2 separate regions of the Homo sapiens genome follow, and region 2 is linked to region 1. The links are contacts of gene promoters, found by promoter capture Hi-C in blood cells and fetal thymus (Javierre and others, 2016). All regions are on one chromosome and are shown on one strand. Each heading gives the region's core, a stretch centred on a gene start or on the middle of the fragment in contact. The rest is flanking DNA. Distances are from core to core; before and after follow the strand shown. Region 1 holds the start of SELP (selectin P). Region 2 overlaps FIRRM (FIGNL1 interacting regulator of recombination and mitosis).

Region 1 (3,767 bases), core at 378-2,877:
AAGCCTAATTTCAGGGTACCAAGAGAGGGGCTTCTGAACATAAAGCCCAGGAGGCAATCGAGAAGGGTTCTTACCCTGGGATCCACATGGAGGTCTGGGAACCTCCTGTGGTTGTCTCTAAAGGTTGGTGTTTATGTCGATGTTTTTGCTTTCATCTGGGAAAGACAAGTTGTAACTTTCATCAAAATCTCAAAGAACTCTCTGATCCAATAAGTTCATACCTTTGAAATAGAGGAGGATGCCAAGGAGAGTAGAAGGAAGAGAGGAATAACTGCTCATTTAAGTTAACCAATTCAGAAGTATGACATGCAAAAAGACAGGACAAAAGTAATTCATATCCTTAGGTCATTGTGGTTCAAACTTAAGACAGGCTCAAACTCCTTCCTCTTCTCTTTATCATACTCTTATTCCTGTTTTCCCCAACACAGAAACCCACATTATAAGTACTTGAAAAGTGTGCTATAGTAAAGCAAAGCAGTAGGATGAATCAGGTGTATGCGGTACTTTTTTCTGGAGTCCCACAGAAAGGTGCTCAAAAACAGAGACCTGCCTGGTTCCTCCATAGCCACAGACTGCAGGATTTCGGACCCTGGGACTATGTGGGATACTCTTGGAAAGTCTGAGGAAAATTGGAAGTAGCTTAACCATGTGCATTTTATCTAGGTGCATATAACATTGCTGAGTTCAAAATGCCTAGCTATCCTTGGATCTTCCCTGAATTAGAAGTAGCCTAACCACGTGCATCTTATCCATGAGCATATAACATTGCTGAGTTCAAAATGCCTAGCTATCCTTGGATCTTCCCTGAATCCTAAACCCCACTATTCCTAAGAATTTTCTTTTTATTGTAACAATAATGGCTAACATTTACTAATCACTTACTATGTGTCAGGCTCAGATCTGGATGCTTTTCAGCAAAATCTTATTTAATCCTCATGATGAAACTATAGAGTATTATTACTATATCCATTTTATAGAAGAAGAAACTGAGTCATTAACAAGATTGAGTCTTAGGGCAGAAAAGGAAACTATGTGGATATTCCAGATCAGTCCCAGAAGATTCATAGGCTCACAGAAAGAAATGGGAGGGATGGGGATGAGAAACTATTCAATTGTAAGCTTGTCCCAGGGCACCTACCCAGTCTTCCATTTATTCCATCATTTATCCCAGAGAGAAGTACAGTCTTGGAAAATGGGGTGACAGGTTTACCATGATCTATTCTCAGAGAGCCCCTATAAATTCTAGTAGGAGGAACAGCAGCTGCGGAGCCAGAGGACAGGCCCCAGATCCCAACATCATGTAGCCTAACAGTGAAGCTTAGATAAAACACAGCCTCTGTAAACCACGATGGCTTTATTTGTAAAATAGAAATAGCAACCTCAACTCACAAGGGTGTTGGGAGGGTCAAAGTGGACAGCAAGTTTAAAAGTACTCACAAAATCTAATAGGCAATTCAACATAAAACTCCATGGCTATCGCTGTTCCTCACTTTCTGAACCTTTACCTGCCTGACTTTACTCCATACCACTCCAACTCACTTCAACCACTTCCCATGCAGAAAAAAATAAACTCACCATCTCCTCTGTGACTCTGCTGGTTTTCTGCCTTCTGCCCAACCCAGACTGCTTACAGTCTCACTGCCTCCCCTCAGTGTCAGGCTGTTTAGAAAAACAACTTCCTATTCACATTCCAGAAACTCACCACAGCCCTTCCCATGAAGTTAGAATGTTGATAATGCAAGAGTAATGTTGGCAGCTTAGAAATAGTGGTTGCCAAGAGGCAAGGGGTCACCCCCTTCCATGGAAGATGGTCTGGAGGCAGGCGCAAGGTGAATTACTCCTGGATATCCCAGGCTGAGCAATGTGGGAACAGTACACACACAAAGGTTTCCTTGGATTATGATATAAGCTCCAATTTAAAGTAGTACATTTGGAAAACATGCTTTGAATTAATTACAATGTGATTTTCCAGTGCCCATTTTCCAGTAATTATGACATGTCAGTGAATGTTTACTATTCCGGCAGCCTTCTGAGGGAAAGAAGCAAAATTAGTAGCACAAAAAAAAATAGAGAGAAATGGAAAAAGCCACTAACAGTTTTCTGGCGCTTGGGAAATTTTATTGGTAAGTTTCAAAATGACGTATTAAATAGACATAGGTCATGTGAAAGGAATTCTGCTTCTTATATCAGAAATAAAAAGGTATACAAATAGATACCTTTTTATTTTCCTCTTCCCATGGGATGTGTAGGACCAAAAAGCTGTTGGCATAGTGGTTAAGACTTCAGCTGTGCTGTTAAACTGCCCGAGACCCATCCTGGCTCCTCTTCTGGCTATCTACTGGGCAAACTACTTAAGCTCTCTATGCCTCTGTTTCCTCAACTGTAAAACAGAATAACAGAACTTGCCTCACCGGGTTGTTGTAGGATGAAATGAGTTAATATGTACAGAGTGATTGAAATGACACTTGGCCCACAATTGATGCTCAACAAATGTTAGTGATTATTATTACTTTTCAGATTGATCTCAGACAGCAAAATCAAGTATCAAGTATTTAGTTTCAAGTCAGAAAGCCATAACTCCTATTTATACTCTTGGAATTCTATTGTACAGTAGTAGGTATTATTCTTCATTCACTTCATGATGGTTACAGCTTGTAAATAGGCATCTCATGGATAAATTTAAAATGGAATGAAGTAGAAACATTGGAAGAAAGTCTAAAGGTAAAGATGAATTAGGGTATATAAGGCTGCATTTGCACGTTGGAATTTGGGACCAAGAAGAAAAAATTAATTATATAGTAGAAGTAGAAAAGATGGTGAAGGAAATGCTGTTGAAGGAATGACTGTAGGGGAATAAGGGAAACTTAGAGAGAGGAAAAAATGAGGAACTTCTTGGCAGCATGATGCAGTTCAGAGTCCAGACCCTAGAGTCAGACTGCCTGGCTCCACCACCTACCAGCTGTGTTGGGCGTTACTAATCTCCCTATAACTCAGTTTCCTCAGTGATGTGGTTTGGCTGTGTCCCCACCCAAATCTCATCTGGAATTGTAGCTCCCATAATTCCCACAGGTTGTGGGAGGCACCTGGTAGATCATTGAATCATGGGGGTGGTTTCCCCCATACTGTTCTCATGGTAGTGAATAAGTCGCATGAGAGCTGATGGTTTTATAAGGGGAAACCCCTTTTGTTTGGTTCTCATTTCTCTCTCTTCCCTGCTGCCATGTAAGACGTGTCTTTTGCTTTCTACCATGATTGTGAGGACTCCCCATCCACGTGGAACTGTGAGTCCATTAAACCTTTTTTTTTTTAATAAGTTATCCAGTCTCGGGTATGTCTCTATCAGCATCATGAGAACAGAATAATACACTCAGCAATGTGAATAATAAGGATAATAATCACCAAATACATAGACATGTAAGGACCATTAAATGAATTTAATGTGTTTGGAACAATACCTATCACGCTGTTAAGTGTAAGTTTAAGTGTTGGCTATTATTCTATAAGACTTGCCTCCATGTCTTTCTGTTCTTACTTTCACTCACCAGCCCCTCTTTTTGGCATTGCCTCATGTTAGAAAAAATATATATAGTCTCAGATGGGGATGAGGAAGTGTGGTATGTAGACTAGTAGGTTCTTTTTTTGAGACAGGGTCTCACTCTGCGGCCCAGGCTGGAGTGCAGTGGCATGATTACTGCTTGCTCCAGCCTTGACCTCCTGGGCTCAAGCAATTCTCCCACCTCAGCCTCCTGAGTAGCTGGGACTATAGA
Region 2 (3,767 bases), core at 512-3,011, 190 kb after region 1:
TGCCACCACACCCAGCTAATTTTTGTATTTTTAGTAGAGATGGGGTTTCACCATGTTGGTCAGTCTGGTCTTGAACTCCTGACCTCAGGTGATCTGCCTGCCCTGCCCTCCCAAAATGCTGGGATTACAGGTGTGAGCCACTGTGCCCGGTCGACAACTTTTCTATTTTACAGTTATCGCTACTGTTCTGATGACTCTCAAATACGCAGCCCTCTTTAAAATTATGACACAGTTTTTAACGTTTGAACATTGTGGTTAAATAGAACAATGAGTTTTTTAGCCTCATCCTCCTTTCATTCTCATGTTAAGAATTTTTTTTTAGTGCTGGGTGTGGTGGCTCATGCCTGTAATCCCAGCACTTTGGGAGGCCAAGGCAGGTGGATGACCTGAGGTCAGGAGTTCAAGACCAGCCTGGACAACATGGTGAAACCCCTCCTCTACTAACAATACAAAATTAGCCGGGCATGGTGGTACATGCCTGTAATCCCAGCTGCCTGGGAGGCTGAGGCACGAGAATTGCTTGAACCTGGGAGGCAGAGGTTTCATGAGCCGAGATCACAACATTGTACTGCAGCCTGGGCAACAAGAGTGAAACGCTATCTCAAAAAAAAAAAAAGAAAAGAAAAGAAAGAAAAACAAATAATTTTTTTAAAAGGGGTCACATTCAGGATTTTATGTTATTTTGCATACCTTTGTGAGATTATATGTACTAAAGAGACATATTTTTATGCAAAGAATGAATAGAGTTGTTTTATTTTAGGAATTTCTTCCTTTCCTCTCTGATTCTTGCTGTACTTTGCACCAACTGTATCTTCAGATACACAGGTAAGAAGAATGCCATATGATTATTAAGATACAACAATGCCATCTGTGCCATGCAGTGCTTAAGTACCTACCATTTTATGATAAAACAGAATAATTTTTCTTAATGTTTTAGTAATTTTTATCTGCTAGCTTGAAATAATTGGAGATAGAGGCTTTTGAAAGATACATTCCACATGAGTTATGCTTATCTTTGTATTTTATTAGTACCTTATACAGGAGTAATAATTAGTAGGTGATAAAATCCAATGGCAAATATAAATATATATATACACAAATATACGTATACCTTTATTTTTCTATTGGCATTTTTTAATCTTTATTTTTATTTTGTTTCTATGAAGTTTAAGTCACTTAGCCTCCATTTAAATTTACATTTTGATACCTTTCTGTAATTCACTTTACAGGACAGTCTTTTTTCTGAAACCATCTCAGAAAAGAACTGAATTACAGAAAGGTATCAAAATTTAGATGGGGGCTAAGTGACTTCTAAAATTGATGGTTTCCTCCAAAGAGCCCTAAATTTGACACAAAGTGAGTTCATTTATCCAGCAGTCCTGTTGCAGCTTCATAATTCATTTAGTGTCCCAGACAACTTTTTCACACCTTTCCTTCCTCAAACTTCCTGTATCTTCCAACACCTTCCCAATTCCTCACTGTCAATGACCTCACTTCCTGTGTCACTGAGGAAAAATGGAAGCAATTAAGAGAGCTGCTGTATGTTTCCTCTAACACATCTACTATTCTATGTGTATCTAGACCCATATATTCATTCCCTCACTCCCATGAGTGAACTGTGCCCCTAAGACTAGCCTCTCCATTGTGCATTGGATTTCATCCTCTCTCACAGGCTCAGTGACCTTGCACCAGCAATTATTCCCTTTCCCTCTTGCATCATCAGCCTTTCCTCCATACTGGGTCACTCTCATGAGTATACAAATATGCTGTTATTTTTCCCATCTTAACAATACAAAACAAAATCTCTTGACTCTACGTCCTCCTACAAATACCGTCTCGTTTCTCTGCCTTTCTTTACAGCAAAATTTCTAGAAAGAGTTGTCTATACCCCTGTCTCAACTCTTTCTTGAATCTAGTCCAATCAGGCTTTCTGTACCAACACTTCATCAAAATAGTTCTTGTTAAGGTCATCAGTGACCACCACATTGCTGCATCCAGTAGTCAATTATAGTCCTTCTGTAACCTGTCAGTAGCACTTGATCCTCTTTTTTGAACACTTTGTTCTGTTGGTTTCTAGGGCATGTCTCACTCTTGGTTCTCTTCTAGTCTTACTAGCTGCTCCTTCTCAGCCTCCTTAGCAGGTTTCTCTTCTAAGTTAAGTGTGTCCCAGCACTTACTCCTCAGGCCTGTTATCTGTCTATTATCATTTAGTCTCAAGACTTTAAGTTTATGTCTCCTTTAATGTTTAACTACTAGTCAGGACATCTATACTAAATTGTCCCAAACTGAACTCTTGATTTCCACCCATATCATCCTCATACCCAACAAAATCTGTTCCTTTTGTAACTTCTTTATTTCAGTTTAAGTGGCAGTTCTTCAAATTGATCAGGCCAAAAAACCTTGCCCTATTAACATGTTCTGTCAATGTTACCTTCAGTGCACACACGCACACGTACACGCACTTCTCATCACCTGAACTGCTACCATCTGATCTGACCCCCTATTATTTTCTTGCCTGGATTTTGCAAAAAACTTTCTATCTTTGCCTCGCGCTAGTTTGTTCTCCACAAAGTAGCCAAAGTAAATGATAAAATACATAAATCAGATGATGTGACTTCTCTGCTCAACCCCTCAAAATGACTTTCATCAATGGAACTTCTTGTCTTTCTTTCCTTGTTTTATTTTTCTTCTTTACAGCATTGAATTAACCTCTGCTATATTATGTATTTACTTGTACACTTGTCTGTTAACTGTCCCCTTTCATTAGAATTGTAAACTATAAAGACAGTGACTTTGTATATTCTCTTTATTACTGTATCACCCACTCGTGGAACAGTGCATGGCATGTATACATAGGCACTTAGTAAACATATGTCAAATTAATTTAAAAATAGTTGATTGAAAAAATAAATTCTTGCAATGATGCTCAGTAGATGTAATTCAAGTCTGTGGAATTTCATTACTATGTTTTATTTGTATATGTCTTTTATTTATTTATAATTTAATCCTCACAGTAACTCAGAATCAATGTCACAAATGATGAAACTGAGTCTCAGGGAGGGCAAATGAATGAACCAAAGTCATGTAACTAATTGACAGATTGGTGCTTTTTCCATCACTCTACAAAAACCTCAAGTGTTTATCTTAAGTGCATACTTTAAAATGCTGTTATCCTCTGCTAGACAGAGTTTTCTCATGTATTGTCAAGTTTACAATTAATGTGGCAAAAAATATAGAATACATATCTTAGTTCACATAAGTTTTGATTGAAGTTCAGTTTAAAATCCAGTTACTGAGACATTTTCATGAAATAATCTTTCCATTCTTCAGTGTTAGTATACAGTTTATTTCTTGTAAAGCTCTTGCTTCTGAGAAACTGAGTATTAATTCATAGTAAATTCAGCATTCTGCCTATTTTAAAACAACTTTTTTTTTCTTTTTTGAGATGGAGTTTCGCTCTTGCTGTCTAGGCTGGAGTGCAATGGCGAAATCTCGGCTCACTGCAACCTCCACCTCCCAGGTTCAAGCAATTCTCCTGACTCCGCCTCCCAAGTAGCTGGGATTACAGGCATGTGCCACCATGCTTGGCTAATTTTGTATTTTTAGTAGAGACGAGGTTTCTCCATGTTTGTCAGGCTGGTCTTGAACTCCCAACCTCGCTTGCCTCGGCCTCCCAAAGTGCTGGGATTACAGGCGTGAGCCACCACACCCGGCATTTTTTTTTTTTTTTTCTGAGATAGAGTTTCACTCTGCCGCCCAGGCTGGAG

The links. Contacts are between HindIII fragments. The CHiCAGO score rates a contact against its expected background, and 5 or more counts as called.
Region 2: a fragment that was not itself captured here is called in contact with the fragment with the promoter of SELP in region 1 in 1 of 17 cell types (neutrophils); the score reaches 5.5 in neutrophils.

Annotation. Positions count from the first base shown.
Region 1 is chr1:169,628,497-169,632,263 of GRCh38, forward strand. SELP (selectin P) reads right to left here and starts at 1,628. Exons shown (of 17, transcript NM_003005.4): 1 at 1,576-1,628. The coding sequence starts at 1,578. The HindIII fragment of the contact is 5,122 bases long and covers 1,316-3,767 here.
Region 2 is chr1:169,822,648-169,826,414 of GRCh38, forward strand. FIRRM (FIGNL1 interacting regulator of recombination and mitosis) reads left to right here. Exons shown (of 25, transcript NM_001320047.2): 11 at 761-825. Among named protein-coding and RNA genes, the nearest start is that of FIRRM, 29 kb to the left of the region's middle. The HindIII fragment of the contact is 5,588 bases long and covers 1-3,767 here.